6 separate regions of the Homo sapiens genome follow, and regions 1, 2, 3, 5 and 6 are each linked to region 4. Evidence: promoter capture Hi-C in 16 types of primary human blood cells and fetal thymus (Javierre and others, 2016). All regions are on one chromosome and are shown on one strand. The core of a region is centred on a gene start or on the middle of the fragment in contact, and the rest is flanking DNA. Distances in the headings are between cores, read along the strand shown. Region 1 overlaps KLHL18 (kelch like family member 18). Region 2 overlaps KLHL18 (kelch like family member 18). Region 3 has its middle 39 kb from the start of PTH1R. Region 4 holds the start of SETD2 (SET domain containing 2, histone lysine methyltransferase). Region 5 overlaps KLHL18 (kelch like family member 18). Region 6 overlaps SETD2 (SET domain containing 2, histone lysine methyltransferase).

Region 1 (4,190 bases), core at 721-3,220, 130 kb after region 4:
AGTTTGGGAAGATGAAGAATTCTGGAGACAGATAGTGGTGATGGTTGTAGAATGTACTTAATGCCACAGAACTGTACACTTGAACATGGTTAAAATGGTAAACTGTATGTTATTTATATTTAATCCAATTTTCAAAAGATAATTAGCTCAAGAAGACTTGTTACCAGGTGGGCAAGAGAGATTGCTTATAGTGCTTTGTGACTGTAGACACTAAAAACAATTTGTCTTTCTATTGAAACCCAATGATTAGAAACATCTGATGCTAAGGAGTAATCTTTCCTACTCTTTATTTTTGTACTTGGTGCCTCAGCTGTTAAGAGTCAAATTGTATTAGTTCAGCCCTGTAGCTGCACTTCAAATGGTCACTTAAAAGGAATTGCCTTCTAAGAGGTACATATTTAGGAGATGCAGATGTGTTGTGAGCTTATTTTTCTTGGGTTGGTTTGTAAGCTGTAAATGTCGTGTAACCTTGACAGAGCTATTTTGAGGACCAGCAAAACAAGCCGTGCTAACATGTCTTCCAAGTAAAGGTGTGTTGGCATCATCTGCAAATTACAAATAGCTTTCAAACCTATAATTCTACCCCATTTGTCCTGTGGGTCCTCATACTCATTATGTCTAAAGTGAACACCCTTGCCCATCTTTTGTTTCCTCTGTGTTAGGGGGGCACACAATCCATCTAGTCGTGCACAGTTGAAACTCTGGGATTGTCTTTGGCTCATCCTCTCTTATGTGTATTTTGTGACACTTATTACAATAGTAATTACATAACTATTTATAGTGTTGTAACTCCACAAGAGCAGGGCTGTGACTGAATTATTTACTGAGGTATCTACATAATAGCTGCTCAGTAAACCACTGTCCTAATTGAGATCCTCTTCATCTTTTACCTAACCCAGGATTTCTTTAACTTTACTAGCATGTTGAGAGAATTCTTACCGACCTTCTAGTGAATGAGCCTACTAACAGATTGTTTTTCTAGGGAAAAACAGATTTCATTGTAGGGAATGAGCTACTAACAGATTGTTTTTCCCCAGGCTTAATTCTGATCTTATTCTGCTCTGAGTGGCTTCTCATTTCGTTTTCATTCAGCAGGGTGCTCAGCAGGTATGTCAGCACCTTCCATGTGCCAAGTACTGTTCTAGGTGCTGAGGGTGCAGCAGTGAGCAGAGTAGGCCAAGCCTTTTTGAGTATGAGCTTACATCCTAGTGGAGTAGCAGACAATAAACAGATGGAAGATGTCCAGTGGTGACCAGTGCCATGAAGAAAAGTAAAGCAGGAGCCAGCCTCTCTTAATAGAGATCTAAATGAAGTGAGGGAGCAATCCATGAGGATATCTGAAGGCAGAGGGAACAGTAAGCACGGAGCCCTGAGGCAGGAGCACACTTGGTGTTTTGGGGAAACAGCAAGAAGCCAGAATGATAAGGGCAGAGTGACCAAGGAGAAAAGTGGAAGGACACGAGGTCAGAGAAGTAGCCACCCAGCCCAGCACAGTTCCTTGCATGTGTATGGTATGGCTCAGTAAATACGTTGTGAATGAATGAATGAAACCAATCAATAATTATGTATTTATGAATAAAAAATCAGGGCAGGGTGTTAGAGGTATACCTAAGGTAATAGAAAGTTAGGATGCATATTCCATGGTTCATGAAGACAGCACTGCGTTTTGCTTGCACTTTCCCCTTCGGTTTAGGAGAGATGATGATAATGGCCGGAGCCAGAAGACTAATTCTGACTTGTTCTTGAAGGAAATTCTGTTCTGCACACAGTGACAATCAGAGGTTAGAAACTTGTCAGCGGAGCCGTGAGTCGAGCAGAGCTGCTCAGCTCTTGGTGGTTGTAAAACGTGCCTCTACCTCATGTTTGAGAAAGCTTGTGTTTTCCGTGTATATGGCTTAGCATTTTAAGTAATCACGATATCTGAGGGGTAATGGGAATGCAGGAGCAGCAGGTGGTGGCTAGTTTTCTGTAGGATTTAGGAAAGGACTGCTGATTTAACTGAATCTCTGATTATTCTAAGCTGCTCATAGAAATCCACCAGTCACTGCTGTCTCAGACGTCAGAGGGAGAAGCTTAAGCATGTTCTGTTGTTGACAGCCATTCTGGTTGACTTCTCTAAGACTGCCAGCTGTATTCTTGATATTCAGAGTCCTGCAGATGTGGCCCCTCTCTGCTATTCTACCCTGCTTTCCCACAGTGTCCTCTTGCATCAGCTGGCCATCTCTCCATGACTGTGTTCCCCCTCCTCTGGGCCTTTGCTCTAGTGTTCCTTTGGCTTGGAGTATCTGCTCACATCTGCCAAGCAGAGCCGTATCCATGCTTCAAGCTTTCTTCCATATTTTCTTCCTTTGCTTTCTTTCCTTTTTCTTTCTTCCCTTGCTTTCCCTTTCCCTTTCTCTTTCTCCTCTTTTCTTTTTTCTTTCTTCAGGGTCTTGCTCTTGCCCAGGCTGGTGCAGTGGTGCAATCATAGTTCATTGTAACCTCGAATTCCTGGGCTCAAGTGATCTTCCCACCTCAGCTTTCTGAGTAGCTGGAACTACAGGTGTGTTGCCACCACACTCAGTTAATTTAAAAAAAAATTTTTTTTTTTTGGTAGATACAGGGTCTTGCTTTGTTGCCCAGGCTGGTCTCGAACTCCTGGCCTCAGGCAATCCTCCCACCTCGGCCTCACAAAGTGCTGTGTAGCCACTGTGCCCGGCCCCTTCAAAGTTTTCTTTTCTCAAAGGGACCCATGCCCTCTTTCTTGTGCTCTGTCCTATCACAGTGGGGGGTTGTGTGAAGTCCCATCTCTCTGAAGACAGTCTTCTCATATCCCTCCAGGTGTAGTTCATCTCCCCCTCTTCCACTGCACCTTAACCCCTCATTACTTAGTGTTGTCATTGGACTAATAGCGTCAGCATCACCTGGGTGGGGGCCTGTTCGAAGTGCAGAATTTCAGGTCCCGCCCCAGACCTACTGAACTAGAATCTGGTGCTTCTTACATCCTGTGCACATTAAAGTTTGAGAAGCATTGCCGCCACACATTGGTCCTACTCCCCTTACTGGTCTGAGCAGGATGTAGATGGTTCGAGTGTTTTTGTTCCCCTCTAGATGTTGAACTCCTGAATCGTGAGCCATCTCTTACCTAGTATAGTTCTTAGCATGTTTCAAGCACTTAAAAGTATTTACTGAATTACCTTAACTAACCCCTGACCTTATGTTTGAGATGCTTCTTCAGTCAACATACTATATAAGTGCATTTACCTGTGCTTGGTGCTTGTAGGTGCATGAGACACCCTGCTGTGAATGGGAGTCAGCCTCTGTCTTTGGCATTTATAGATGAGTGGGGAAGATAGATTATGCATCAATTATTAATAATTATGAGAAAAGGCAGAGTCTGATAAATTCTGTAACTGCATAGGCATCACCAGAGGCCTAAGGGAACATCAAAGGAGTAGCTGATATTTACAGTTCTGAGGGTTTGTGACTGTTGCATGGAAAGGATGGTATTTAGTTGGTACATTGCAAGATGAATAGGACTTTGACAGACAGGCACAGTGGAAAGAGGCATTCCAGGCCAGGGGAGAGTGTTCAGAGGCCCAGGCATGAAAGTACACCTACAGTGTTTCTTAAATAAGTAAGACATAGAGGAGCAAGGTGGAAGGTGGGATTGGAGAGGTCGATTGAGTACAGACTGTGTACTCCTTAAATTTTCATGGTGAGGAGTCTAGACTGCTAAGAAACACCTGCAAATCAGTTGAAGTTGGTATAGTTACATGTTCAGTGGTTCCTGAGGACTCTGCCCACTTCTCTCCCTTCCTCTGCTCCCATTCTACCTTGCTGGATCTGAGTAGTAGGAAGTGGGGGGAGGGTTTAGAAGAAGTGGGAAGCAGCCTGAATGTTTTAGCCAGCTGTTCATATGGGACTGGAGCCCCAAGTCCTTTTTTAGTGTCAGCTGGTCAGCTACTTCCTTCCTCACCCCCTTCCTGTGTCACTACCCAGTGGGGCACTCTAAAGCAGAGAGACCAAAACTCCATCACAGAGTGTTCAAAGAGTGTGCTCTAAAATGCTATCGAAAACTGCAGACTGAGCCCAGTATGTTTTATTATACTTGCCATCAGTTTCTTAACCCCAAGAGTTTATGAGGACTCATCATTTCTGCTTGTGGTAGTACTATATGAACCTGTGTCTCTCTGTCCGTATTCTAGGCT
Region 2 (3,655 bases), core at 188-2,687, 150 kb after region 4:
CACAGCCAGTTGAACACATACTTAACTTTCATTCCCCTCCATAACCCCATTAAAATAGTAGTAAGAGGGGAAAGACATATCAGCAAATGAGAAATCAATGGAATATTAAAGCCAGAGAGCATGTGTGGAAGACTTAGTGGGCCAGAGGAACTGAAAGTGCCTCCCGGGGGAGAAACTGAGAAGGAAGAGGATTTCTAGTGTAGAACCCTGGAATTGTTCCAGAATTGGAGACACCAAATACTGAAAACAGGAAGATTACTTGGAAGTCTGTATGAAAGGCAATTAGATGCCTGCACCCCCTCCCCCACTCTCTCAGGAGATAGGAAGTTTAGTCTTAGATACTGAACCAGAGGCTCCGAATCAGGCACACCAAGCATAGGAGAAAGGGTGCAATATGGAACAAAACTGAAAAGAAGGGCTTTAAGATAAGAGTTATCAGTAGTGCATGGTAGAACCATCCACCTCTTAGACCCAGTTTCCAGAATATCTGTAGGCCGACAGATATTTCCCTGCAAGAGACTGGAAGATCGTGCTCTGATAAAATTAACTCCAGAGAAAAAGTCCTGAAGATACTGAATACTTCTAGGGGTCCTCAATCAAATGGCCGATTCTTGCCTGATCACCCTAATGTGAAGCCCACAAATCAACAAGCCTACCCCCTAGCCAAGTGTCACCAGACATTTAAAGAAAACCTCTAACATAGAAGACAGAGATCAAAACAATTGGAAGAGAAAATATCTCAGGAAACAGTAAAAGCAGAGAGATAAAGAAGAAAAAAAGTTGTAACTATATACTGTCTCAGGAGAGATTTGAGAAAATATTGCATTCATGAAAGATGAACAGGATTCTTTTAAAAAGGAAGCTTTTGAAAACAAGAACTCTAGGAAATTAAAAATATGATAGCCAGTATAAAAACCTACAACACAGAAAGATTGTAAGATAGGGTTGAAGAAGTTTCCTCACTGATAGACCAAATGAAAGAGATGGAAAGTGAGGAAGAACAATAAGAAAATTAGAGGATTATTCCAAGAAATCTAACACCTGACTAATAGAAATTTCTGAGGAGAAAAAATTACAATAGGAGGGAGGAAATTATCAAGGATTAAATGGTGTAAAGAGATTTTTCCAGAACTGAAATAATGTCTGTAGATTGATACAGCACAATAAAAGAAAACCAATACCAAGATACAATACTGTGAAATTTTAGAACTACAAGAATACAGAGAAAATCCTAAAGGCTTCTAGAGAGCACAGTTACATACTTAGAGTTAGGATTCAAAATAGCATTGGATTTCTCAATAACAACAAACTAGGCCAGGTGTGGTGACTCACGCCTGTAATCCCAGCTCTTTGAGAGGCTGAGGTGGGAGGATTGCTTGAAGCCAGGAGTTTGAGAACAGCCTGAGCAACAAAGCAGGACCTGTCTGTACAAATATATATATATGTATATATATACATATATACATATATATGTATATATATACATATATACATATATATGTATATATATACATATATACATATATACATATATATGTATATGTGTGTATATATATACATATATACGTATATATGTATATGTGTGTATATATACATATATACGTATATATGTATATGTGTGTGTATATATACATATATACGTATATATGTATATGTGTGTGTATATATACATATATACGTATATATGTATATGTGTGTGTATATATACATATATACGTATATATGTATATGTGTGTGTATATATACATATATACATATATATGTGTGTATATATATACATATATATATTTTTAAACATAGCCAGGTGCACACTAGCATGCCTATAGTCTCAACTACTCAGGAGACTGAGGCAGGAGGATTGCTTGAGCTCAGGAATTCAAGTCCAGCCTGGGGGACAGAGTAAGACCCCATCTCTAAAAACAAAAGAACTAGAAGACAATGGAGCAATACTTTCAAAATTTTGACAGGAAAAAAGTCTAAACTTTGAATTTTTTAACCAACTAAATTATTATCTAAGCTTGAGGGTAGTAAAGACATTTTCAGACATTGTACATAGACCCCTTCTTATGAGGCTCTACTAGAAGACACATTTTTATTTGTTTGAGATGGAATCTCGTTCTTCTTGCCCAGGCTGAGTGCAGTGGTACGGTGTCTGCTCACCGCAACCTCCGCCTCCCAGGTTCAAGTGATTCTTCTGCCTCAGCACCTCGGGTAGCTGGAATTACAGGTGTCTGCCACCACGCTGGGCTAATTTTTTGCATTTTTAGTAGAGACGGGGTTTCACCATGTTGGCCAGGCTGGTCTCGAACCCCTGACCTCAGGTGATCCACCCGCCTCAGGCTCCCAAAGTGCTGAGATTACAGGTGTGAGCCACCATGCCCAGCCTAAAAGACACTTTCTACCAGAACAAGTGAATAAATAAGAAAGAGGACTACGTGGGGTTCAGGAAACGGGGGTGTTAGTATAGGTGAGGGAAACAGAATTCCCAGGAAGAGTTCCAGTAGATAATGTCTCAAGAAACAGACAACTTAAAACAAACAACTGATAGAGTACCTGACTGAATATATTAACCAGAGTTTTATGCTCTAGGGAAAAGAAAAATTATACAAAAAGGAAATATATACTGACAGTATACAGCATGGCTTGGCTACAAATAATATTTACATAGACTTAATGCAACTCTTCATATTAATTTAACCAAAATTTGACCTAATTATATTGGAAAGATAGGGAGAGTGTAGGGGATAGTACATGAAGAAAGGTATCAGGACAAATTCTTAATCTTCCATAATAGGAATTAGATTAGTAATATAATAGTTATCTTTTGCCGCATAACAAACTACCCCAAAATTTGTGACTTTTTTGTTTTTGAGACTCCATCCCAGGCAGGAGTGCAGTGGCACGATCTTGGCTCACTGCAGCCTCTGCCTCCCAGGTTCAAGCGACTCTCCTGCCCCAGTGACCCAAGTAGCTGGGATTACAGGCATGCGCCCACTAATTTTTGTATTTATTGTAGAGACAGGGTTTCATCATGTTGCCCAGGCTGCTCTCAAACTCCTGATCCACCCTCAAGCAATCCACCTTCCTTGGCCTCCCAAAGTGCTGGGATTACAGGCATGAGCCACCCTGCGTCCGGCCCAAAATTTAGTGACTTAAAACAAGTATTTATTATCTCACAGTTTCTGCTGGCCAGGAGTTCAGAAGCAGCTTAGACATTTCTCACAAAGTTGCTGTCATCTGAAGGCTTGGCTGGAGCTGGAGGATGCTCTTCCAAGCTCACTCAGGTAGCTGTAGAAGTCTTCAGTCTTCTTCATATGGGCCTCTCTTAAGGATATGTTATTTAGCTTCTCTTAGAGCAAGTGATCCAGAAGAAGAGGGTAAGAGGAATTTCAGTGCCTTTTATGACCTAGCTTTGAATGTGACATACCATCGTCACTTCTGCTATATTCTGTTGGTCACATAGACCAACCCTGACATGTTGTGGGAGGGGACTGCACAAGGGTGTAAATACCAAGAGTGAGCATTTACTGGGAGCTATTTAGAGGTTGGGTACCACAGGGAATAACTCAAAGTGAAAAGTCAACAAGTAATATGTAAGCACATATTATTTAGAAAGATGGAGAAAAGTCCTAGAAGCAAGAGGTTGCCCCTGGGA
Region 3 (3,894 bases), core at 846-3,345, 250 kb before region 4:
ATCTGAGCACTTTGGGAGGGTGAGGCGGGAGGATCGCTTGAGGTCAGTTTGAGACCAGCCTGGCCAAAATGGTGAAACCCTGTCTCTACTAAAAATATTTAAAAAATGGCGCGGGCTCACGCCTGTAATCCCAGCACTTTGGGAGGCCGAGGCGGGCGGATCACGAGGTCAAGAGATACAGACCATCCTGGGCAACATGATGAAACCCCCTCTCTACTAAAAATACAAAAATTAGCTGGGCATGGTGGCGTGTGCCCATAGTCCCAGCTACTCAGGAGTCTGAGGCAGGAGAATCTCTTGAACCCAGGAGGCGGAGGTTGCAGTGAGCCAAGACCGCACCACTGCACTCCAGCGTGCCGACAGAGCAAGACTTCATCACAAAAAAAAAAAAAAAATTAGGCACGGTAGCACACAGCCACAGTCCCAGCTACTTGAGAGGCTGAGGTTGGAGAGCTGCTTGAGCCCGGGAGGCGAAGGTTGCAGTGAGCTGAGATCGTGCCACTGCACTCCAGCCTGGGTGACAGAGAATCCATCTCTAAATAAAGATAGATAGATGATAGATAGATAGATAGATAGATAGATAGATAGATAGATAGATAGATAGAAAAAAAAATAAGCCTGTGTGTTGAAATACAGCATATACAGCAAGTTGTATAAAAATAAATACATATAGAGAATAAATTCCCATCACTCAAGCCAAGAAAAACACTTTGCCATTATCTCAAAGGGCCCCACTCCAGAGCTAACTACAAGCCTGAAGTTGACGATCACCACCTTGCTCTTCTGCCCTGGCCTTACCACCTGCGTGTGTCCTTACATTGTCTCACTCCGCCTGTTTGGAACGTCACACAAATGGCTCATACTCTATTTCTTCCGTGACTTGCTTCTTTCAACATCTATCCATTTGTTGCACATGACTGTAGCTCTTCTCACAGCTATGGAACATCACACTTTCAGAATGACAACTTATTATTACCACATTCTGGCTTTGATTTAGTGTGTGTGTGCACACATGTGCCCGTGCTATTACAAACAATGCTTCTACAAGCATTTCTGTCCCTGTCTCCTGGTGTACATGTGCAAGTTTTCTAGTGCACTAAGAGCGCAACTGATGGGTCCCAGCGTGCACATGTTCAACTTTCCCAACGTGGTTACACATTTCACACTCTTATGGCTGTGGGTGAGAGGTCCCACTGCTCCACAGTACAGTGGTGTAGCTAATGACACTTCTGAAAGTCTCCCTTGCCTGGCCTCACTCCTGCCACCTCCACTTTCTTTTGTTGATCCTGTGCTTGATAGAGCTTTTCTAGTCCCATTAATCTTTGTTTCTATTAATTTATGAGGCAGGGTCTCACTCTGTCGCTCAGAACTCCCAGGCTCACATGATCTCCCACCTCAGCCTCCCAAGTAGCTGCGACTACAGGCAGGCACCACCCCGCCTGGCTAATTTTTTTATTTTTTATTTTTGTAGAAGACGGAGTTTCACCATTTTGCCCAGACTGGTCTTGAACTCCTGGGCTCAAGCAATCTGCCTGAGACTCGAGCAAATTCAGCCTTCTCAAGTGCTGGGATTACAGGCATGAGCCACTGCACCCAGTCGGCTTCAGGTTTTTTTAAACTCAGCAAACTGAGTTTAAAGGAAAAAAAAAAAGAAAGAAAAGCAGTCTAATACCTTGCTATTACTGATATATCTGGATTCAACTACTCAATCCACCTTTTCTCTCTGCTTTCTTTTGGATAGTTACTTTTTTCCCATTCTGGTTTTTTTTTTTTTTTTTCCTCTCTCATCTCCTCTGAAAGTGGTACACTCTGTTTCTACTCTTTTCAGGTTACCCCAGAAATGTCAAGAGGCCTGTTTCCTAGTCTTATCCCTCTTCCTAAGTGAGCGTCTTCAAGGACTGTAACCCCAACCACCTCCTACCTCTGAACTTACATACCATTGTTGTTATGTATTCTAAATAGCCCCTGCTTTACCCCACAACACATTTTTGTTTTACAAGGTCAGTGCTTATTTACATTTATACTTCCTTTCTCTGGACTTTCCATCTGGGATTGTGCCCCTCAGTCTGAAAATATCCTTTATGATTTTTTTAAAAGGAGAATGCTTATTTCATTTTTAAAAAACAACTTTATACATATACAGCCCACCCATTAAAGTGTACAATTCAATGGCTCTTGGCATATTCAGCATATTCACAGATTTGTGCAACCACAATCACTTTTAGAACATTTTCATTACCCCAAAATAGATTTTCATTTAGTGAGAGTCTGCTGGTGACAGAATCCCTGACTTCGTTGGTCTAAAAACATCTTAGGCCAGGTGCGGTGGCTCAGGCCTGTAATCCCAGCACTTTGGGAGGCCAAGGTGGGCAGATCACTTGAGTTCAGGAGTTCAAGATCAGCCTGGGCAAAATAGTGAGACCCCATCTCTGCAAAAAAACAAAAAACACGTCTCATATTTTCCCTGAGTATGCAATTCTAGGATGACAACTTTCTTTCATTCCTGTTTACACTGGTTATAGCTGAGATATCTGCTGCTATGTTGCTCCTCAAAAGGTAGTATGTCCTTTCTCTCTGATTTTAAGGTATTTTCTTGGTCTTTGTGCTCTTTAATGTTATTACAATGTGATTAGGTATGTGGTAGTTTTTAAATAAGTCCACAAATTCTTACACAGTCCTCCCTTCAGGAAGTGGAAGCTAATTCTTCTAAGTGTCGACTGGGCGTAGTGACTTGCTTCTAACAAACAGAATGTAGCAGAATATCACTTCCAAGCCCAGATCATAAGAAAGCCCCACAACGCTCCCTCCTGCCTTCTTTCTTAGACTGCCACTCTGGGAAAGCCACCTGCCATGTCTTGAGAACACACAGGCCGATGGAGAGGTCCATGTGGCAAGACACAGGGGCCACCAATCAACAGCCCCATGAGTCATCTTGGAAACAGATCCTCCAGCCCCAGTCCAGCCTTCAGATGAGTGCAGCTTCACAACTGACCCCAAGCTAGACTTACCCAGCTAAGCCACTCCTGATTCCTGGCCCACAGAAACTGAGGTAATAAGTGTTTGTTATTTTAAGCCCCCGAGTTTTGGGTAATTTATGTGTAGCAACTGATGATTAATAAAAAGTGTAGAATTTTTTTAAGTAAATTTGCTTACTTAGAATAAACATACAAAAAGGGCATAAAACATGTATACAGTTCAATGAATATTCATAAAGTAAAAATACCTAATCATCACCCAGATGAAGAAACAGAACATTTGGATGTATAGTTCTTCCTATTAACCTGCCTGAGACTTACTGGTCTTCTTGAATCTGTGAATTGGTGATTTTTTCTGGAAAGTTCTCAGCCAGTTTTTAAATATTGCTTCTGCCTCATTTTCATTTTTTTTTTTTCCCACCTGGAACTCCGTCACTTTACGTTGGATCTCTTCATTCTACTCTCCATGTCTCTCAGCCACTTGCTTTACATTATCACTGTTTATCTTGCTGGGCTGCATTTTGGAAAACTTCAGATCTAGCTTCCCATTCACTAATTGTCTCTTCACCTTTGTCTAATTCACAGATACAAGGTTTTTAATTGCCATAATACACTATAGTGCTATATAGTCACTCCTTATCTATGGGGGGATGTTCCAAGACCTCCAACCCCAGTGGATGCCCGAAATGGTGGCGAGTACTGAACCCTATATATGCTGTGTTTCCCCTTTACATACATACCTATGATAAAGTTTAATTTATAAATTAGGCACAGTAACAAATTAACAATAACTAATGAGAAAACAATTATAACAATACACAGTAATAAAAGTTATGTGAATGTGGTCTCTCTCAAAGTATCTTATTGCATGTGATAGTTTCGGACATGGTTGACCACAGGTAGCTGAAACCACAGAAAG
Region 4 (4,053 bases), core at 797-3,296:
GGTCTACCAAAGATGCACTTCTGAGTCCATTTTCCCACATATTATGAAAAATTGTTTTTCCCCAAGAAGTGTAAGGATGTGATCCTTAAAGCTTCCGGACTTCACCAAACAACCTGGTAAAAGGAAGTGAAAGCAGGCACTTAGCCTATTCAGGGGTTAGCATGTTACTTTGTACAGAGCAAGTGCTATATAAGCATTTATTGAATCGTGATATAAAATTTTTTTTGAGGTTTTTCAAACTAAAAACCTATAACATGAGCTTTGTAATTGGACTGATGGTGCAGTAAATCAAAACAATCTTACCTAACTGACCCTGCCAGTAGCAAAACAAAAAGACCAATCTAATTAAGGTAATGTTAACCAATGGCCAAGAACCCATGAAAGGAAAAAGCCATGTTAACTTACTATTGCAAGTAAGAGTTGGGTTTTTAGAAAAGCAAAATAATGATTTATCTTGTTGTGCAGAAATGACCAACACCTCAACAGAATCCGTTTGTGTTGCAATCAAAACTATCAATTAAGATCCAGACATTTCTGGACCAATGTGAGAAGATGTGGCAAGGGATTCAAAAACGAGCCAGAGCAAACCTAAGGTAAAATGTGTCAAAACAGCAAAGCTCTTGGAATCATCCTGGTCATAAAAGTTTGACAGTTTCATGTGAAACCCCTATCAACCGATAAGTTTTAAATCAATAGTATATTCCTAGGTCTAACACCAGCAAACGGTGTTTAAGAACGGCTTTTCAAAACAATGGTCTCGTGAGGGTTCAGGGAAAGAAGTGACTCCAGGCTTTCTGAGATAGCAGATACAGCAGCAGATTCAGACCTCAAGAGAAATGTAAAGGTGTCCTAGACTGAAAAATTACTATTGGGCAAAACTGTGTGTCGGTTTTCCACAACATTGTCTTCTTTAGAGAATCCTCAAACGATTCTTGGTTTTTAACCAAGTCTTCACAAGAAATAGAAAGTCATCCGTTTAGGGTAAGAGATTCCTGTTACCAAGAAAATTGTGTCCGAAAGTGTGAAAATCTCACAACCTGCAAGAAAATGTATGTCCCTCAGGAGGCTTTCATTTTCAAGCGGAAAAACAAACCCGGTGTCACCTCAACAACGGGACCACACAAACCTCGCCATTACAAAACCCAAGTGCCAAAGGTGCACAATGTGAATCCGGAAGCACTGCAAGGCCAGGATCGAGTTCCCAGGAGGAAAAAATCAAACTCAGGAGTGCAGCGCGGGCCCCTCCACGGCCCGGGGGCCAGGCAACCCGCGCTAGGCCCTTCCGGTCCGAGGCGCCGCCGTCGCGGGGAGGTCGGGCGACGGGTCGAGCTTCCACCCGAGCCCGGGGATTCGCGGCCTACCCTCACCGGCGCCCTCTTGCCGGGCCCGGCACCGGCAGCTCCTCCGACTCTGCCCTTTGGCTAGCAGCGGGGCCCGGACGAGCCACGAGGAGCCCGAGAGGACCGCCGAGCCCCGGGATGGCCGGGTCGGTGCGGACACGGCGGTAACCGTAGGGACCGTGGCCGCCCCTCCCCCACCGGCCCGGCCCAACCGCCGCCGCGACACGAGCAGCGGCGCCAACGCCGGGCCCAACCGCGGGCCTGCTGCGGCCCCGGCCAAGCGGCTCGAAGTGGCGGCGCGGGCCTGCTCCCGACACCGACCGCGCGAGGCCACCGTGGGCCTGTTACTCCTCGCGCCGGCCCGCGCCGCCACCCGTCAGGACGCGCCGCCCTCGGCTGGGGATAAGGCGGCCGACAGCAGCGGGGGGCCGCGGAGCTGATACTTACTCAGGGGTCGGGTGCTCCGGGTCGTAGAAATCCCCCATCTTCGGAGGCGGCTGCGGCTGCAGCTGCTTCATCGGGAGCGGCTGGAGACGGCGACGCGAGCCCCCTCCCCGCAGCAGGGCGACGCGGGGGAGGGGAGGGGAGGAGGCCGCAGGTCCGACCGCGGCGGCGGCGGCGGCGGCGGCGGCGGCGGCAGGGGCGGCCCGCGTCGCTACCTCGCTCGTCGCTCCCTCCCTCCCTCGGACGCCCGCCAGCCGCTCTCTCCCTCTCACCCTCACACCGGGAGCGACGCACACCCCACCCGCCCCTCAGCTTCGCAGGCCCGGCCCCTTAAAGAGACACACACGGGCCACCGATCTGCCGCCAGTCGGCGTGCCTTGCAGCTGTTGGCTTGACCCCAGGCCGGGACGGGCAGAGCGGAACACTGCCCGGCGGGTCCAGGCCGACCGTGCCTGTGGCTCTCCGGAACAATAAACCCCCGGCCCCAGTGATGTGGGCCAGACCGGACCTGGAGAGGCGGCACCGCGACCCCTCCCGCAACCCGCCTGGCGGCCGGGGGCAGCGTGACCCGGCCCGCTACCGTGTCACAGCTGGCGACTGACAAACAGCAGGCGACGTCGGGAGAACTCCCCGAGACACCCGAGACATCAGCCTTCTCGCTCCGCGGCCCTGCAGGACCTGCCCGCCGGGAGCCCCGGAGTCCGCGGCAGCGCCGAGGGCCCCTCCCCCAGGCCTCTGGGCTCTGAGGTAACGCGGCCGCGGCTGCTCCCGGGCCCCTCGTCCCACTCGCCCCTCTCTTTTTTATTTTTCCTCGCCCTCTCTCTCCCTTGCCCGTTCATCTCGACCCTTTAGCAAGCATGGAAGCCCAGCGAGGCGGGGGATTGCTCGGAGGCCGAGCTCCCGGCAGCCTCCTCCGCCTTCCTTCCCGCTGTGCCCTCGGGGCTCCTACCTCCACCTCGGCGCGGCGCTCTGCCCCCACCCGAAGTCTCCAAGGCGGCAGCTCCCCTCTCCTGTGTGGTTCTTGGGGCCTTAGAGGCAATGTCATGAAAAAAAGGGTATTAATCACTTTCCTACAGAAATGATAAGATGAGACTAAGTAGAATAACTTGAAAGAGCTACGAGTTGTTATTTTTGGAAGGAGAGATAGGAACGCGTAAATCCAATAGCTAAACTTTCTAGACGCTGAAGAGTTTTTGGCGATAGATCATTTTGACATTGGGGGTTCATAGGGTTAGCGTTTTTTGTGTTGTTGTTGCTGTTGTTTTTCCACTAGAATTTTGAATCGGATTTTACCAGCAATTGGTAACGGAAAGGAAAGGATGTGTCTTCCAATTGAGAAACAGTGGTTAAAAACTGAAAGTGGGCCGGGCGCGGTGGTTCACGCCTGTAATCCCAGCACTTTAGGAGGCCGAGGCGGGCGGAGTAACTGAGGTCAAGAGTTCCAGACCACACTGGCCAACATGGCGAAACCCCATCTCTACTAAAAATACAAAATTTAGCCGGGCGTGGTGGCGCACGGCTGTAATTCCAGGTACGCGGGAGGCTGAAGCAGGAGAATCGCTTGAACCCAGGAGGCGGAGGTTGCAGTAAGCCCAGATTGTGCCACTGCACTCCAGCCTGGCGACAGAGCAAGACTCCATCTCAAAAAAATAAATAAATGAATGAAAATAAAAAATAAATTAGCTGGGCGTGGTGGTGCGCCTGTAATCCCAGCTACTCGGGAGGCTGAGGCAGGAGAATCGCTTGAACCCAGGAGGCGGAGGTTGTAGTGAGCCCAGATCGCACCATTGCACTCCAGCCTGGGCGATATAGCGAGACTCCGTCTCAAAAAAATAAAACAACAACAACAAAAAAAAACTGAAATATGATACGAAAGAATAAACATCCTTCAGTGGTTAACTTTTTAAAATAGCCTTTATATGTATGTAGGCTACAGTGTCTATTAGTGTTTTATAATCATTGTTTTTCACTTAGGGATTATTTTGGCTTTTGTTTTTTTTTTTCCTGGTACCTTTAGGGTTAGCATGGAGGTCCAGGGTCCATCTGACTCCCTAGGTTCGAATCTCCCAAGGCCATTTTTTTACACACCGTGATTATTACTAATTTCCCTGTGGTTTTTCTCATTATAAAATGAGAATATTGCTGCCGACAGGTCTTCTCATTATTGTGAGGATTAAATGAGCTATTTGTTAAAGGCTTAAACTTTCAGTAAACGTCAGCATTCTTCAGCCATGATAGTGCAGAGTTTAAGAGGTAGCTCTACCTGGCA
Region 5 (3,865 bases), core at 211-2,710, 180 kb after region 4:
AACAAGCGCTGCCGGCACGGAGCCGCCTCCCTGGGGAGCAAGATGTTTGTCTGCGGGGGCTACGATGGCTCTGGCTTCCTCAGCATTGCCGAGATGTACAGCTCTGTGGCAGACCAGTGGTGCCTGATTGTCCCCATGCACACGCGCAGGAGCCGGGTCTCCCTGGTGGCCAGCTGTGGGCGCCTCTACGCTGTTGGGGGCTACGACGGACAGTCAAACCTAAGCTCAGTGGAGATGTATGACCCAGAGACAGACTGCTGGACATTCATGGCCCCCATGGCGTGCCATGAGGGAGGGGTCGGTGTGGGCTGCATCCCTCTCCTCACCATCTAAGGCAGAGGATGGGATGTGGTGGGGCAGGGATCTGGTACAGACATAGGCGCTTCCTTCCAGGAACAGTCCCTCAGGAGAGGCAGTGGACCAGAAGAGATGGCGAAACGTGAGCTCGCCGGAGGTACAGTTTTTCCAGGTGCTTAAGCCCTCCCCCACTGTGCCACCCTTGTGACCTTCAGGCTTGGGTCATCAAGATGCACAGCATGGAACACAAGCTCCTCTGGATCCTGCAGCTGGTGACATGGAACTGTTTTCTGGTCCACATGAACACAGGCTCCATCCAGGCCCAGCTCCTACCCACCGCCTCTCTGTGGGCCAGCTGTTCACAGAAGGCCTTCCATCTGATGCTCCCCATCGCCTGCTTGCTCTCCAGCCGAGTCTGGCCAATTTGCCATGGGGAGGCTGCAGTGTCCAAGCCTGCTGGAAACTGGGATGTAGCTGGGGACGAAAGGACAGACCCAAGCGTTCTCCCTGCCTGAGATGGTGTGGCCACAGCAGTGGAAGGCTGCACACAGGCACATTCCTTCTTCCACAGTGGGGCACCAAGGATTCTGTCCTCATTGCTGGGTAAGCAGGGAGAAGAGAAGTTTTCCCCATGTCTAATTTTGGGATTTCAGTGAGGCCTTTTGATCTGTCCAGGAGAACAGAAGGGAAAAAAAGATACTTGAAAGAAACTGAAGGAAATTTAAACAAAGAAACACTTGAAAGAAACTGGAAAGAAAAATAATTTTTTTATGTGAACAAATTTTGCAAGAAGAAAAAAGCATAAAAGACACTAACGGCAAATCTATGTTTAAATGGAAAATCGTCTAACTGGAGAAGGGCGGTATCCACCCCACATTCGGATCCCAGGGTCCTGAGGCCTCGCATTGAGCTGGGGGTTCCCTCTGAGCCCCAGTGTGTGTGGAATCAGTGCACTCTTGACTGGGCCTGTAGTAAGGTGCTCATGGGGTTTGTCTTCTCACCCACCATCAGAGGACTTTTAAAATCATAGGCGTAGAGAGTTAGGCTATCTGCTGAATTACTGCCACTCTTCTTGGTGGGGGCTCCTAGCTGTGGCTGGGGGCTCCAGGCGCCCCTGTGATTACCTCCTACTGCCACCATGGCGCTCATTCAGATTCCCCACTCTCACTAACATTGCTTCCTTTTTTGACCAGCAGGAAACAGCAGGTCTGGCCAGATTCTCACTTGCCCATCAATCTCGTTCTTGGATGATTTCCCTCATTGTGATGCTTCTGGGGCACGTTGACCATATGCACCTCTAGAACCTAACCAGGGCTTCCTTCTACCAGCTGTGGGCGGGCTTGGTCTGGTAACCTTGTCTGCTCTGCCATTCCACTGCTCCTCCATCCACTCGCCAATCCCAAGAGTCTGGCCTCCCTCCAGCCCTGGGCAGACTGACCAGCAAGGTGGACCTTTACATTCAAGCACAGCTGGCTTTTATGACATAAAGAACTAAAGGCCGAAAGAATCTCTTGCTGCTGCAAAGAACAGATTTTATATTTCTTCCTCTAATCTTGGCAAATGACCTTTACCTTTTGGAAAGATTTCATATTGCTTCCTCCTCCCTGGATAGGACCTAATGTAGCACAGCGGGACTCAAAGAGGAGGACATTTTCTCTTGCCAGTGCACTGGGCAGTGGGGCTGTCCTTCAACTGCTGCTGCCAAAATTGGTTTTCTAAAATTCTTCCAGTAGAGACTAAAAGAAGATTCAATTCCTGTAACCCAAGACTGAGTCTTAGGGCTCCAGTCTCCACCTGCTTGGTTTCCTATCCTTTGCTGCCTGCCTGGGGTGGCCTGGAAGCCTGTTCAGAAAGGCACAATGTGGAGCCTGGGGTGTCTCCCCCACCCCAGGACCGTCAGGTTTACCAGTGTGTGCAATCGCCATGTATTCAGAGGGAAGTACCTTTGTTACCTACAACTTAGGAGCTAGGCCTCTGCTACAAGCACTTGAAAATGATATTTTTATTTTTAACGTCTCAACAATCTGATATCGGATGTCGTTTAACCTGGGCTCGTGGTAGGGCTCCAGCATTTCTCCCTCCTTCCTGGTTTGCCTGTAGGGGTAGACTCGGAAGGTGGGTGGGGTGTGCATTTCCTGTTAGGAGTGTATCAGTGCTTGTCTTATTATAAGCCCCTTTCTTTTGTGAATTTGAAGTAGCACCAACAAGCCTGGATTGTGAAGGTATTAAGAATCGGTCTGTGGGCTACTGAGTGGGTCCTTAGGATACTGGCCCAGATTTTGCCACTGGGTATGGCAGATCATTTTCTACCATGGCCTGCTGCTCTTGTAGTGGACTTCCTGAGTCCAATCCCACCTCCTGGTGTAGAATTTACACTGCTGCACCTGAGGTCGATGTTTCAAAGTAAGATCAAGCCAGTGTTTTGATCTGGGCTCTGAGCACAAGTCAGGAAACACCAACATATTCACACTCTCCCAGTAGGTTCCTCAGTCCGATGGTGAATGGCTATTCGTAAATGGCTGGTCTGGCTCTTTGGTGTTGGAGCCTTTCCAATAGCCCCATGAAAAGAAGCATCACCCAAGGATATTGTAAAAAGGATGTAACAAGGAGATAGGGTAGACATTGTACTCAGTGGGCCTTGGGGCCTAGCCCAGCTCTGAGCAGAGGACTGTGGCATTCACTGTCCTTGAGTGTTTCACCTTCTTGGATAACACACGGGCCTTCTCTTCTGGATTTCATCAGAGATTACAGCCAGATGGGGGCTGAAGACCATCCTCTTGACCACAGAGGTGTGACTGTGGGAATTCCTCCCAATTTATGGTTTCCCAGAAAATCTTAGTTCCTTTTATTTATAGAATGCATGTCTTTTGTGTTAAGAAACCAAAGAGAAATAAAGAGAACACTCCTAATAGCTCTTGTCCTTTCTTGGTTTATTTCTCAGATATTAGAAGTACATGTTTGTTTTTTAATTGTGATTCACTGAAAAAAATATATTGGACAAAATGGGAATATTTCTGTGAATATAAGGGAAAAGCCAGATGTACAGCAAAAGTAGTCTTTGGAGAGATTTATTTTATGAGAGTCACTTCTGGTGAAAAATATGCAAAGACTTCATTTGCACTTTGGGACTGCATATTGGTGCCTGTCCTGATCGCCCCTACTCTCGGATTTCCCCTTTTCTCCATTCACTGCCCTAAAACTCCAGAGTTTCCCAGTGGAATGTGGCTGCCTGTTGACTGCCTGGAATCAGCATCTCCAGCTCCTTTTTTATGCTCTAGGCGAGAGGTGCTTTAACTTTGGTGCACATAAAAGTCACTGGAAAATGTTTAAACCACAGATCCGTTCCTAAGTCCCTCTCTAGAGACAGGTTCCCTAGGGCTGGGGTGCAGCTCAGCATTCTGGCGTGAGCAAGTTTCCTTGGTGATTTGCATGCTCTTCAGTGTGAGAACTATACTCCCATCTTCAGTTTCACTTCCCCAAATACAGCCGCATTCCAGATCTGCTCTTCCAAGATTACACTGTGGTTAGTGTGGTTTTGCCTGTTGGGAAACTCTTCAGTCACACTTTT
Region 6 (3,971 bases), core at 457-2,956, 140 kb before region 4:
CTGACACTCTAGGATTCCAGGACAGAGGCGAAATGCTCTGTTCTGAAGACTCTTGAATACTCATCACCTTTCCTCCAAAGGTGGAGTTGGCTAGACTGTAGAAGACAGTCTCAGTATGCAAGAGAGGCTCCTTGGAGGTTGGTACCTTCAGTTTAGGAACAGAAAGATTAAGGAAGTATCACGATATTGACGGGGAGGTGATGAAGGTCATCAAAGCCAGTGAACAGATAAGTAGATGATGACACAGAAGATACTCTATGTCCCCAGCTGGCAAGATAATGACAAACCCAGGAACATTCCCTTCCAGCACTGCTAGAGGGAGGCTTCCAAGTTCCCTCTAACTAGGTACTGCACCAGGAGGCGATGAGTTGGAAGCTTTGGTATTCAGAGCACCTGTCATGCAGGCCATCTCCCCATACCTTTGCCCACCACTAGCCATCAGGCCCCTTCCCAGTAAATGTGCTTTTCCACGGAAAATAATAATTATGAGCATTCCCCTCCAAATATAAGTTACTTCATAATGGATCTAGAAGCTGGAGTTGATATTATAGGTACTTCACACTTTTTTGTTAGGGGCACAGGGTAGAATAATTTTCCTGCTCCCCACCCATCTCCTGGTTCTGCTTCTTCCATTTCCATAAACAGTATGAAGGCTCTGGTTCTAAAGCAGCTGGACTAGCTCCAGAGAAAGGTGGCACTCCCTTGGCTTTAGGCTGTTACAAATCAACTTTCTCTGCTGTGTCATAAAAGCTTTACGTATTTTCTATTTTTCCAATTTCTTCATGTAGCTGTATGGGGAGATTAGGGGGTAGAGTAAAAAGAATATAAAGATCCAATTTGTTTTTTAAGAAAACAAAACTAAGCAAAAATAATGCTAATAATATAAGTTAAGTCTATTTTCAAGTGTTTTGCTTTGGGATTTTGTTATTTTTTTTCCCCCAGTTGTAGATGGTATGAGTATGCTCCACAGTAAGACCTTAGGTAGCAAGGGATCAAGAATTATTTGAGTAAGTCAAGAAAACTTCAACACATCCCCAGCTACTCTCTTGTAGCTCTCAGAAGTCAGCAGCAACAGAAATGAGTACAGAAAGCCCCTTCAGGTCTGGGTATCTCAAAGATCTGGGTCCTATAGAAGAGGCCATGCTCTCAGCGAGGGTACTATGTAAATAGAAATGTCCTGTTTCACTCTGGATAGGGTATGCACTCACAAAGCTAAATGAACCCAAAGCACTTTTAATAGATTTATAATTTAATCCCTGACTTGATGAGGTTGGCGGGGGATTGGTGGGGGGTGGCCTTTAAAAACACAATTATAGAATACAATCCACTGAGCTCTGTCTAGGAGCTTTCTTGGTCCTCCTGAGTGCTGAGCAATTGGGATCGAGAAAGGAAATGATAAAATGAGGGGTCCCCAGACTTACATCATGGAAATCATGAACCAAAATGGAATACTCTTGAGAGTACTGAAATTCATGAAACCCTCTCTTCATGGTCTGTGATTTGCAAATGGCATGGGAAATAATTTCAGAAACTGGCTAACATTTACTCAAATCTAATGCCAGGCAAAGTAACCAGAGTCTGAGTTGAGGACAGCACTTGTTATTGACATGAACAACCTTAGGACCCCCCACTCCAAAAAAGTCCCATTTAAAAATTTAGCAGGTAAGGCTGGGTGTGGTGGCTCACGCCTGTAATCCTAGCACTTTGGGAGGCGGAGGAGGGCGGATCACGAGGTCAAGAGATCAAGACCATCCTGGCCAACATGGTGAAACCTCGTCTCTACTAAAAATACAAAAATTAGCTGGGCGTGGTGGCGCGTGCCTGTAGTCCCAGCTACTTGGGAGGCTGAGGCAGGAGAATCGCTTGTGCCTGTAGTCCCAGCTACTTGGGAGGCTGAGGCAGGAGAATCGTTTGAACCCGGGAGAGGTGGAGGTTGCAGTGAGCTGAGATCATGCCATTGCACTCCAGCCTGGGAGACAGAGCAACAATCTGTCACACACACACACACACACACACACACACACACACACACAAATTTAGCACGTGGGGTTCAGTGACTCATGCCTGTAATCCCAGCACTTTGGGAGGCCAAGATGGGGAGATTGTTTGAGCCCAGGAATTCGAGACCAGCATCTCTATAAAAAAACTGAAAAATTAGCTGGGCATGGTGGCTATGCCTGTGGTCCCAGTTACTTGGGAGGTTGAGGTTGGAGAGTTGCGCGAGCCTAGGAGGTTGAGGCTGCAGTGAGCTGTGATCATGCTACTGCACTCCAGCCTGGGCAACAGAGTGAAATGCTGTCTCCAAAAAGAAAAAAAGCACTTTTAAGGAAACCACCAGAGAACAGGGTAGGGGCTCTGATACATAAAAAAGCGAGTGCTTCCAGATCCTCAGCAATAAACAATAATCAGTTTGCCTTTTCTCTGTGTTGGCTTATATAGAGTATCAGTCAATTAAAGATTCTGGTGGAAATCTATGTGAGGCCGTGGACAGTTAAGAGTACACAATGAAATGAGCAGGCAAAGGGCCTGGCAGAAAGCCAGAGCTTACTGCCTTTAGAAGCTGACCCTGCTGTCAGCCTTCACCTGTGGCACATTTGGATTCCTAGGAAATCTGTTCTGATTATGACAAGGCAGGCCTGAGTACCTTTATATTACCCAAGGTGAAGCTTGAGACCTTCTGGATTAGTTGGCAATGGCCTTAAGCTTATTGGGCAGTTCTGGTAACCATACACAGGCTGTGTAACACAACAGAATCACCCTTTATTATAAATATTGACATGACTATGTCACAAAGCCCATGTGACTTGGAACCAAGAGGGTATGGCTTGAGTTACAGAAATGAGTCCTGACAAAGGCAGAGCAGGACATACCCAGCTAATACTTCTCTCTCCCTGTATTTAATTAAATACTGATTAGAGGGCTGGGCACGGTGGCTCATGCCTGTAATCCTAGCACTTTGGGAGGCTGAGGCGGGTGGATCATGAGGTCAGGAGTTCGAGACCAGCCTGGCCAAGATGGTGAAACCCCGTCTCTACTAAAAAATACAAAAATTAGTCAGGCGCGGCGGCGTGCACCTGTAATCCCAGCTACTCGGGAGGCTGAGGCAGGAGAACTGCTTGAACCCGGGAGGTGGAGTCTGCAGTGAGCTGAGATCGTGCCACTGCACTGCAGCCTGGGTGACAGAGCGAGACTCTGTCTCAAAAAAGAAAAAAAAAATACTGTTTAGAACATAAAATGTAAATCATTCAGTGAGGAACTACATCTTTTGTGGCAGCATGAATCCAGAAGCAGGAGGAGAAGCTGAGCCATCATAAACACTATCCACACAATTCAACCTAAGCTCTGCAGCACATGAACCTGTACATGTCAATTTTTAAAAGGTTAAGATCATTGAAAATAATAAAAACTTAGTACAGCTGGTGTTCTGCATCTGTAGGCCAGCCATGGATAGAAAATATTGAAAAAAAATACAATAAAAATAATACAAATAAGAACCAATTTTAAAAAACCCCAATGCAGTATAACCACTATTTATATAGCATTTACATTGTATTGGGTATTATACGCAACACAGAGGTGATTTACAGCATATGGGAGTATGTGCGTAGGTGACATACAAACACTACGCCCTTGTATATAAGGGACTTGAGCATCTTTAGACTTTGGCATCCATGATAGGGTGTCTTGAAATCAATCCCCTATGGATACAGAGTGACAACTGTAATGTGTCTCAAGGTATTCTTCTTTTGGTTGATTTTACTTGGGATCCTTTAGGCTTCATGAATCCGTATGCCTATTTCCCTCTCTCAAGATGGGAAATTTTCAACATTATTTATTTCTTAAACAAATTTTATATAGCCTGGATGTGGTGGCTCAGGCCTATAATCCCAGCACTTTGGGAGGCCGAGGCGAGCAGATCACTTGAGGCCAGGAGTTTGAGATCAGCCTGGCCAAAAAAGCAAAACCCCATC

The links. Contacts are between HindIII fragments. The CHiCAGO score rates a contact against its expected background, and 5 or more counts as called.
Region 1: a fragment that was not itself captured here is called in contact with the fragment with the promoter of SETD2 in region 4 in 2 of 17 cell types (naive B cells and total B cells); the score reaches 7.3 in naive B cells.
Region 2: a contact is called between a fragment that was not itself captured here and the fragment with the promoter of SETD2 in region 4, in 4 of 17 cell types (megakaryocytes, erythroblasts, naive CD4 T cells and 1 more). The highest score is 5.9, in megakaryocytes.
Region 3: a fragment that was not itself captured here is called in contact with the fragment with the promoter of SETD2 in region 4 in 1 of 17 cell types (neutrophils); the score reaches 6.2 in neutrophils.
Region 5: a fragment that was not itself captured here is called in contact with the fragment with the promoter of SETD2 in region 4 in 5 of 17 cell types (megakaryocytes, endothelial precursors, M2 macrophages and 2 more); the score reaches 6.3 in megakaryocytes.
Region 6: a fragment that was not itself captured here is called in contact with the fragment with the promoter of SETD2 in region 4 in 1 of 17 cell types (endothelial precursors); the score reaches 7.3 in endothelial precursors.

The regions. Positions count from the first base shown.
Region 1 is chr3:47,293,169-47,297,358 of GRCh38, forward strand. The region is part of intron 1 of KLHL18 (kelch like family member 18); the gene reads left to right. Among named protein-coding and RNA genes, the nearest start is that of KLHL18, 12 kb to the left of the region's middle. The HindIII fragment of the contact is 200 bases long and covers 1,871-2,070 here.
Region 2 is chr3:47,315,029-47,318,683 of GRCh38, forward strand. The region is part of intron 1 of KLHL18 (kelch like family member 18); the gene reads left to right. Among named protein-coding and RNA genes, the nearest start is that of KLHL18, 34 kb to the left of the region's middle. The HindIII fragment of the contact is 1,155 bases long and covers 861-2,015 here.
Region 3 is chr3:46,914,526-46,918,419 of GRCh38, forward strand. No RefSeq gene overlaps it. Among named protein-coding and RNA genes, the nearest start is that of PTH1R, 39 kb to the left of the region's middle. The HindIII fragment of the contact is 4,758 bases long and covers 1-3,894 here.
Region 4 is chr3:47,162,067-47,166,119 of GRCh38, forward strand. It overlaps SETD2 (SET domain containing 2, histone lysine methyltransferase), which reads right to left and starts at 2,047. Exons shown (of 21, transcript NM_014159.7): 1 at 1,788-2,047. The coding sequence starts at 1,858. KIF9-AS1 (KIF9 antisense RNA 1) reads left to right here and starts at 2,304. Exons shown (of 7, transcript NR_033373.1): 1 at 2,304-2,531. RefSeq lists silencers at 1,340-1,649, 1,700-2,449, 2,500-2,549. The HindIII fragment of the contact is 4,411 bases long and covers 90-4,053 here.
Region 5 is chr3:47,343,609-47,347,473 of GRCh38, forward strand. KLHL18 (kelch like family member 18) reads left to right here. Exons shown (of 10, transcript NM_025010.5): 10 at 1-3,208. The coding sequence ends at 333. Among named protein-coding and RNA genes, the nearest start is that of PTPN23, 35 kb to the right of the region's middle. The HindIII fragment of the contact is 8,623 bases long and covers 1-3,865 here.
Region 6 is chr3:47,020,201-47,024,171 of GRCh38, forward strand. The region is part of intron 18 of SETD2 (SET domain containing 2, histone lysine methyltransferase); the gene reads right to left. Among named protein-coding and RNA genes, the nearest start is that of NBEAL2, 43 kb to the left of the region's middle. The HindIII fragment of the contact is 1,916 bases long and covers 749-2,664 here.